Linked DNA regions of Homo sapiens: region 2 is linked to region 1. The links are contacts of gene promoters, found by promoter capture Hi-C in blood cells and fetal thymus (Javierre and others, 2016). All regions are on one chromosome and are shown on one strand. Each heading gives the region's core, a stretch centred on a gene start or on the middle of the fragment in contact. The rest is flanking DNA. Distances are from core to core; before and after follow the strand shown. Region 1 holds the start of SLC52A1 (solute carrier family 52 member 1). Region 2 holds the start of ZMYND15 (zinc finger MYND-type containing 15).

What was found. Contacts are between HindIII fragments. The CHiCAGO score rates a contact against its expected background, and 5 or more counts as called.
Region 2: a contact is called between the fragment with the promoter of ZMYND15 here and the fragment with the promoter of SLC52A1 in region 1, in 5 of 17 cell types (erythroblasts, total B cells, naive B cells and 2 more). The highest score is 8.2, in erythroblasts.

The regions. Positions count from the first base shown.
Region 1 is chr17:5,033,872-5,037,122 of GRCh38, forward strand. It overlaps SLC52A1 (solute carrier family 52 member 1), which reads right to left and starts at 1,555. Exons shown (of 5, transcript NM_017986.4): 1 at 990-1,555; 2 at 606-842; 3 at 1-487. The coding sequence starts at 735. The region is part of intron 3 of LOC105371501 (a long non-coding RNA gene); the gene reads left to right. The HindIII fragment of the contact is 18,376 bases long and covers 1-3,251 here.
Region 2 is chr17:4,738,385-4,741,635 of GRCh38, forward strand. It overlaps ZMYND15 (zinc finger MYND-type containing 15), which reads left to right and starts at 1,449. Exons shown (of 14, transcript NM_001136046.3): 1 at 1,449-1,666; 2 at 2,135-2,756; 3 at 3,198-3,251. The coding sequence starts at 2,165. It overlaps CXCL16 (C-X-C motif chemokine ligand 16), which reads right to left and starts at 1,544. Exons shown (of 6, transcript NM_001386809.1): 1 at 877-1,544; 2 at 398-536; 3 at 24-106. The coding sequence starts at 955. RefSeq lists enhancers at 57-962, 963-1,867 and a silencer at 1,416-1,635. The HindIII fragment of the contact is 8,207 bases long and covers 1-3,251 here.

The DNA of each region.
Region 1 (3,251 bases), core at 305-2,804:
GTGACCAGAAGGGCAGTCAGTGCCCAGAAGAAGGTGCTGGCAGGAAAACGCTCAGGGAAGTCGAGGGGAGGCCCAGAGGTGCCATTGGTGGGCGCTGGTGGGCACTCGAGGCGGCCCACACCTTGCACTAGGGCCAGCACACAGGGGAGTAGGGCACTGAGACCCTGACCCAGGAAGAAAGACCGTAAGAAAGGAGGTGGCAGGTGGCTCAGGAAGGGCAGGAAAGTGACATTAGAGGTACAACAGGCCATTGCCAACACCAAGGCCAGAGTTAGGAAGGCCACAGAGTGGAGCTGCCCTGCCACTGGGGCCACGTGGTGCCACAGAGGGGCCAGCAGGGCTGTGCCCACTACACTCAGCACCTGTACCACCTGGATGGGGACCTGCTCGCCCTTGCCCGGGGCCAGCTGCCTCCACAGGGTCACCACCAGCAGACCCAGGTTTCCCAGCGCCACAACCACAGAGAGGTATGAGGGGAGGCTCCAACCTGCAGGGAAGGAATGATGCCATGTCAGGAGCACAGTGGCTAAGGGACAAAGAGCTGCCACAGGCCACCTTTCTGGGCATACCTGCCCCACGCTTCCCTGTACCTCCCTCCCACTCACCCTCTGGAAGGTCTTTTACCACCACAGGCAGCTCCACCCAGATCCCGTTCACAGCAGCCCAGGAGCCCATGCCAAAAAGGGCCACCAGCAGGTGGGTCAGCACCAGACGGCCCAGCGTGGGTGCTGCCATTCAGCCCAAAGCTGGACCCTCCAGGACAGGGCAAAGGTCACAGGCAGGTCCTTCCCTAGGTAGGTCCAAAGATGCTTTGGTTCTTCTGGAAACTGAAGACCTTCTAGCTGGAGGGAAACAGACAGGCTGGCAGGTAATAGGCTGGTGGGACAGAACCGGAGTCAGAAGACAAGTCGGTCAGACTGCTAAGACCAGGGCAACTGGAGGGAGAGGTGGCCGGGGGCGGGCGGGGAAGGTGGGGAGCCAGGACTTACCACGGGGCACCGGCTGTGCGTTTGGGTACAGCGACCCAGCAGTGCCGGCAGGCAGACAGGCAGAAAGCTGGCCCGAGGTGCAGCTGCCCCAGAGGAGCAAAGAGGGAGCTGATTTTCCTACCCACAGAGGACCCGGGGTCCAAGTTGTCAAAACAGCTCAGCACTGGCCGGGTGCGGTGGCTCACACCTGTAATCCCAGCACTTTGGGAAGCTGAGGAAGGCAGATCGCCTGAGGTCAGGAGATTGAGACCATCCTGGCCAACATGGTGAAAACCCGTCTCTACTAAAAATACAAAAATTAGCTGGTCGTGGTGGTGGGTGCCAGTAATCCCAGCTACTCAGGAGGCTGAGGCAGGAGATTCACTTGAACCCGGAAGGTGGAGGTTGCAGTGAGCCAAGATCACACCACTGCATTCCAGCCTGGGCGACAGAACGAGATTCGGTCTCAAAAACAAAACAAAACAAAACAAAACAAAAAAACAGCTCGGCACCAACACGCTCACCCTCAAATGGACCCCGGGACAAGGGCACGTCTCTGGTGCCACTTGCAACCCTAGCGCTTTTGCGACACTCAGGACTTGCTGAGGCAGGTCGAGTTGGAGAGGGGAGTGGCTGGGGCGGGCTCTGCCCGGAGGGGCGTCTCCGTGCTGCCCTCCCGCCTGCCTCAGGGGGGCATCCCGGGAGCCGCCAGGTGCGCAGGGGTCCCCGCACCTCCGGATCCGGCAGTCCCCGGACCCAGCGGCTGGCGGTCTGCCTGAGAGGGAGCCCCCTCCGCCGGGGAGGCGGCCCAGCCCAGAGCCCACACAGCTGGGGTTTTGTTGTTTGTTGTTTTAATTAATTAATTAATTTTGAGACGGGGTCTCACTCTGTCACCCAGGCTAGAGCGCAGCGGTGCGCGATCGCGGCTCACTACAGCCTCAACCTCCCAAGCTCAAGGGATCCTCCCACTCAGCCTCTCCCCACCCCCCCACAAGTAGCTGGGACCACAGGCGAGCATCACCATGTCCAGCTAATTTTTTTTTTTTTTTTTTTTTTTTTTGGTAGAGACAAGGTCTCACTATGTTGCTCAGGCTGGCTTGGCACTCCTGGGCTCAAGCAATCTTCCTACCTCAGCCTCCCAAGTAGCTGGGACTACAGACGCACCACACCTAGCTACCGCCACGCTCAGCTGTTTTTACACTTTTTTTTTTTTTTTTTTTTTTTGAGACGGAGTTTTGCTCTTGTTGCCCAGGCTGGAGTGCAATGGCACGAGCCTCTGCCTCCCGGGTTCAAGCCATTCTCCTGCCTCAGCCTCCCGAGTAGCTGGAATTACAGGCGCCCACCACCATGCCCTGCTAATTTTTGTCTTTTTAGTGCACAGGGTCTCGCCATGTTAGCTAGGCTGGTCTTGAACTCCTGACCTCAGGTGATCCACCTGCCCCGGCCTCCCAAAGTGTTGGGGATTACAGGCGTGAGCCACCGTGCCTGGCCAGCTGTTTTTACACTTTTAAATGGTTGAAAAAAAATTAGCTGGACGTGGTGTGCACACCTGGCTAATTTTTGCTTTTTTTTTTTTTTTTTTTTTTTTTTGAGACGGAGTCTCGCTCTGTCGCCCAGGCTGGAGTGCAGTGGCGCGATCTCGGCTCACTGCAAGCTCCACCTTCCAGGTTCACGCCATTCTCCTGCCTCAGACTCCCGAGTAGCTGGGATTACAGACGCCTGCCACCACGCCTGGATAATTTTTGTATTTTTCGTAGAGATGGGGTTTCACCATATTGGCCAGGCTCGTCTCGAACTCCTGACCTCAGGTGATCCGCCCGCCTCAGCCTCCCAAAGTGCTGGGATTACAGGCGTGAGCCACCATGTCTGGCCCTTTAATGATATTTTGTACTTGTTTACTCACTGACCATCTCAGGGATTACCCTGACCTACTACCCATTTTTGTATGGCCTGCTAGCTAAGACAGGTTTTCACATATTTATTTATTTATTTTTATTACTATTTTTGAGAAAGTGTCTTCCTCAAAAGGAAGTGCAGTAGCACAATCACAGCTCACTGCAGCCTCAAATACCTGGGCTCAAGGATCCTCCCACCTCAGCCTCCTGAGCAGCTGGGACTACAAGCACATGCCACCACGTCCAGCTGTTTTTACATTTTTAAATGGTTGGAAAAAAAAATCAATATCTGTAGTCCCAGCTACTCAGGCGTCTGAGGTGAGAGCATCCCTTGAGCACAGGAGGTCAAGGCTGCAATGAGCCATGATTGTGCCAATGTACTCCAGCT
Region 2 (3,251 bases), core at 199-2,698, 300 kb before region 1:
GAAGAGCAGTGGAAAAGTCTCACCTTTGAGATCAAGACAGCTCATCAATTCCTGAACCCATGGGTCCTTGTTGCCCCCACACACGCTCCAGGAAAGGAGCTGGAACCTGCGGAGGAGAGACCTGGGCTTAGCTGCGGCGCCTTCTTTCCTTCCCCGGCTCCTTCCTCATTCCAGAGGCGTGAAGTTGCCACCAAGAAAGAGCCCTTTCTCCTGGGACTGGGAAACTCCCCAGTAGGTGAGACGGAGTCATGAAGTTTCGGGGAATGAGAGCAAACGGAACCCGGAGATGGGGCTCGGTGAGCCGGGAAGGAGTTCAGGCTGGACCAGAGAGGGTCCTGGAGGCACCTGCAAGGAGGGGCCGCCCAGGCGCTGCCCTCGCAGAGGCAGGTAAAATTACCTCGTGTAGTATAGACACCGATGGTAAGCTCTCAGGTGTTTCCGGAGACGATTCATGAACTGAACCGATGGCGGGGAGTCGGAAGAAATTCTTTTACCACAATAACAACTTCCAGTGACGCTGCCCTCGTTGCCATTGCCTGCGCGGGACGGAGGTGGTCGGCACCCATTCCCAGGCCCAGGGTCCCCACTCCGCTGTTCCCTGGCATCCAATCCACAGCCCCATGACAGCCTCTCGGTGGACCCAGGGTCAGAGCGCCAGGCTCAACCCACACATCATCACGCCCCCGACAACATCCATAATCCCGCCCGGAGCCAGGCGTCCCCGGGCCTCTGTCCCCAACCCCAGGCGGCTGGCTGGCTTTCCTCTTGTCCCCGCTGCCTTCATCCACTCAACTCCGTGGGCCTCGTGTCCCCTCCCCAACTCACCCCCTTCCCGTGACAGGGGAATCTGGGTCCCCTGCCCCGCCCCCGGCTAACCTGGCTGAGTCAGGTACACCAGCAGGAGCAGAAGCAGGAGCAGGAGCACGCGGGACCCGGGCCGCAAGTCCCGTCCCATCTCGGGGCTCCGCGGACTCTGCGGGGATGGAGCCACCTCGCTCTGACTCCCAGACATGCTCCGGCGCGTGACGTCCAGCTGGTGTCTCAATGGCTTTCGCCGGGGACCGGAGGAGACGGCGGCCGGAGAGGAGGCGCGAGCCAGCTGCACCCCCCGGCCCTGCTGTGCCCCGACCGTGCGCTCAGTACTCGGCCCGCGCCATGCCAGCCTCTGGACGCAGGGAAAGCCGAGGAGGTGGAGCTCCCGCGCCCTGCGCCCCCGCACTGGGCCCGGCTCCGTCGAGGGAAGGCCAGGAATCTTGGAAGAAACCGAAAGAAAACTCCGGCGGCGGGCGAGGAGGGGCGGGAGGACGACGGCCCGAGGAGCCGATTCGGTTCGGTTCAGGAGGCCGCCCGCCTGGCCCGTCCGCCGACCTGTGAGGCGGCTGCACTGCCGGACCGGCCCTCCTCCTCCGAGGCACTTTCACTTCCCCGATCCGGGCGCCGCGGGACCCAGCCGCGCTGCATGAGCCTCCCGGGCGGCCCGGTGGAGAGAGTCGCCGCCAGCCCCGGCCGCGCGCACCTGCGGGGCAGCCACCCGCGGACGCACCGAGCCCGGGGGGCGTGGCCGCCCGCTGAGCCGGCGAGGGCTCGGGCAGCCCTGACGTCACAACCGCACCCGCGCACCCTCCACCGCGAGGTATTTACCTTCGAAAAGTGGTGGCGGCTGCAGGTACCGGAGGAGTGGGGCGGCCGGGAGGGGCTAGGTCTACCGGGGCTGCCCGCCACGCAGATCCGAGCCCAGGGAACCCCCTCGCTCCCACTCCCATACCCCACAGACGCATCCAAAATGCTTCCCTCCCCACCAAACCGTTCCCGATAGGATTAGCCCTCTCTCCTCTCTAGCCTTAATTTAAACTCTGCTTTTGAGGGTGTGAACTCTCCAATTTTAAGCCCCAAATACCATCTCATCCCTGAGTAGTCTTCTCCAACCCTGGTCACCCACTTTCAAGTCCAGCCCCCATTTTCCTCCCTAAACTCCCATCCTCAGCCCTGAAAAATCCTCTTCTCCGCTCCTAGCATATCCACGGATCCAACCCTAAGTGACTCTCAAACCTACCCTCTCCCTCAATTTGTGACCCAGCCCCAAACTCCATCATTGCTCTCCTGTCCCTCACCATATATCCCTTCTTTTGCTCAGTCTGGGCCGGGGCCCTGTGCCGCTGAAGACATGGAGTTTGTGTCTGGATACCGGGATGAGTTCCTTGATTTCACTGCCCTTCTCTTCGGCTGGTTCCGAAAGTTTGTGGCAGAGCGTGGAGCTGTAGGGACTAGCCTTGAGGGCCGCTGCCGGCAGCTGGAGGCCCAGATCAGAAGGCTACCCCAGGACCCTGCCCTTTGGGTGCTCCATGTCCTGCCCAACCATAGTGTGGGCATCAGCCTGGGGCAAGGGGCAGAACCAGGTCCTGGACCAGGCCTGGGGACTGCCTGGCTCCTGGGAGACAACCCTCCACTCCACCTGCGAGACCTGAGCCCCTACATCAGCTTTGTCAGCCTAGAGGATGGGGAGGAAGGGGAGGAGGAAGAGGAGGAAGATGAAGAAGAAGAGAAGAGAGAGGACGGGGGTGCAGGCAGCACAGAGAAGGTGGAACCAGAGGAGGACCGGGAGCTAGCCCCTACCAGCAGGGAGTCCCCCCAGGAAACAAACCCTCCAGGAGAGTCAGAGGAGGCTGCCCGGGAGGCAGGAGGTGGCAAGGATGGCTGCCGAGAGGACAGGGTGGAGAACGAAACAAGACCCCAGAAGAGGAAGGGACAGAGGAGTGGTAAGAACCCAGGGCTGGCCCTGCCCTACCCCTTGCCCAGCCATCCTCCCTTCGGAAGCCCTCCCCTGCCACTAGTTCTGAGTGCTGGCCTTCAGGCCAATCTGGCCTGAAAAGGTGTTTTTATTGACCCACAGTGGGGTTTTTTTTTTTAATTTAATGTTTAAACATTGCAAGAAAAAAAGTATCCAGAAGTCTGGATTTACACATTCCCAAGAAAAATCTCAAGCTCTGACAGTGGGCCTACATTTCTGCATGGCAGCGCATTCTGGTCCTCTGTAGCAGCTGTCCCCTTTAGAAGGAGCGTGCCCTCTCTACCCAGAGCCCTTTACTCAGTGAGGTTACTTGCCTAGCCCCGTAGGTATTTGAGTTTGGTACTCCTGACCCTGACCACATTTGTCTCTCGCTGCCCCCTACCACCTCAACTTTTCCCTCTTTCCCCAGAGGCTGCCCCCCTGCACGTTTCCTGTCTCTTACTTGTGACGGATGAGCATGGCA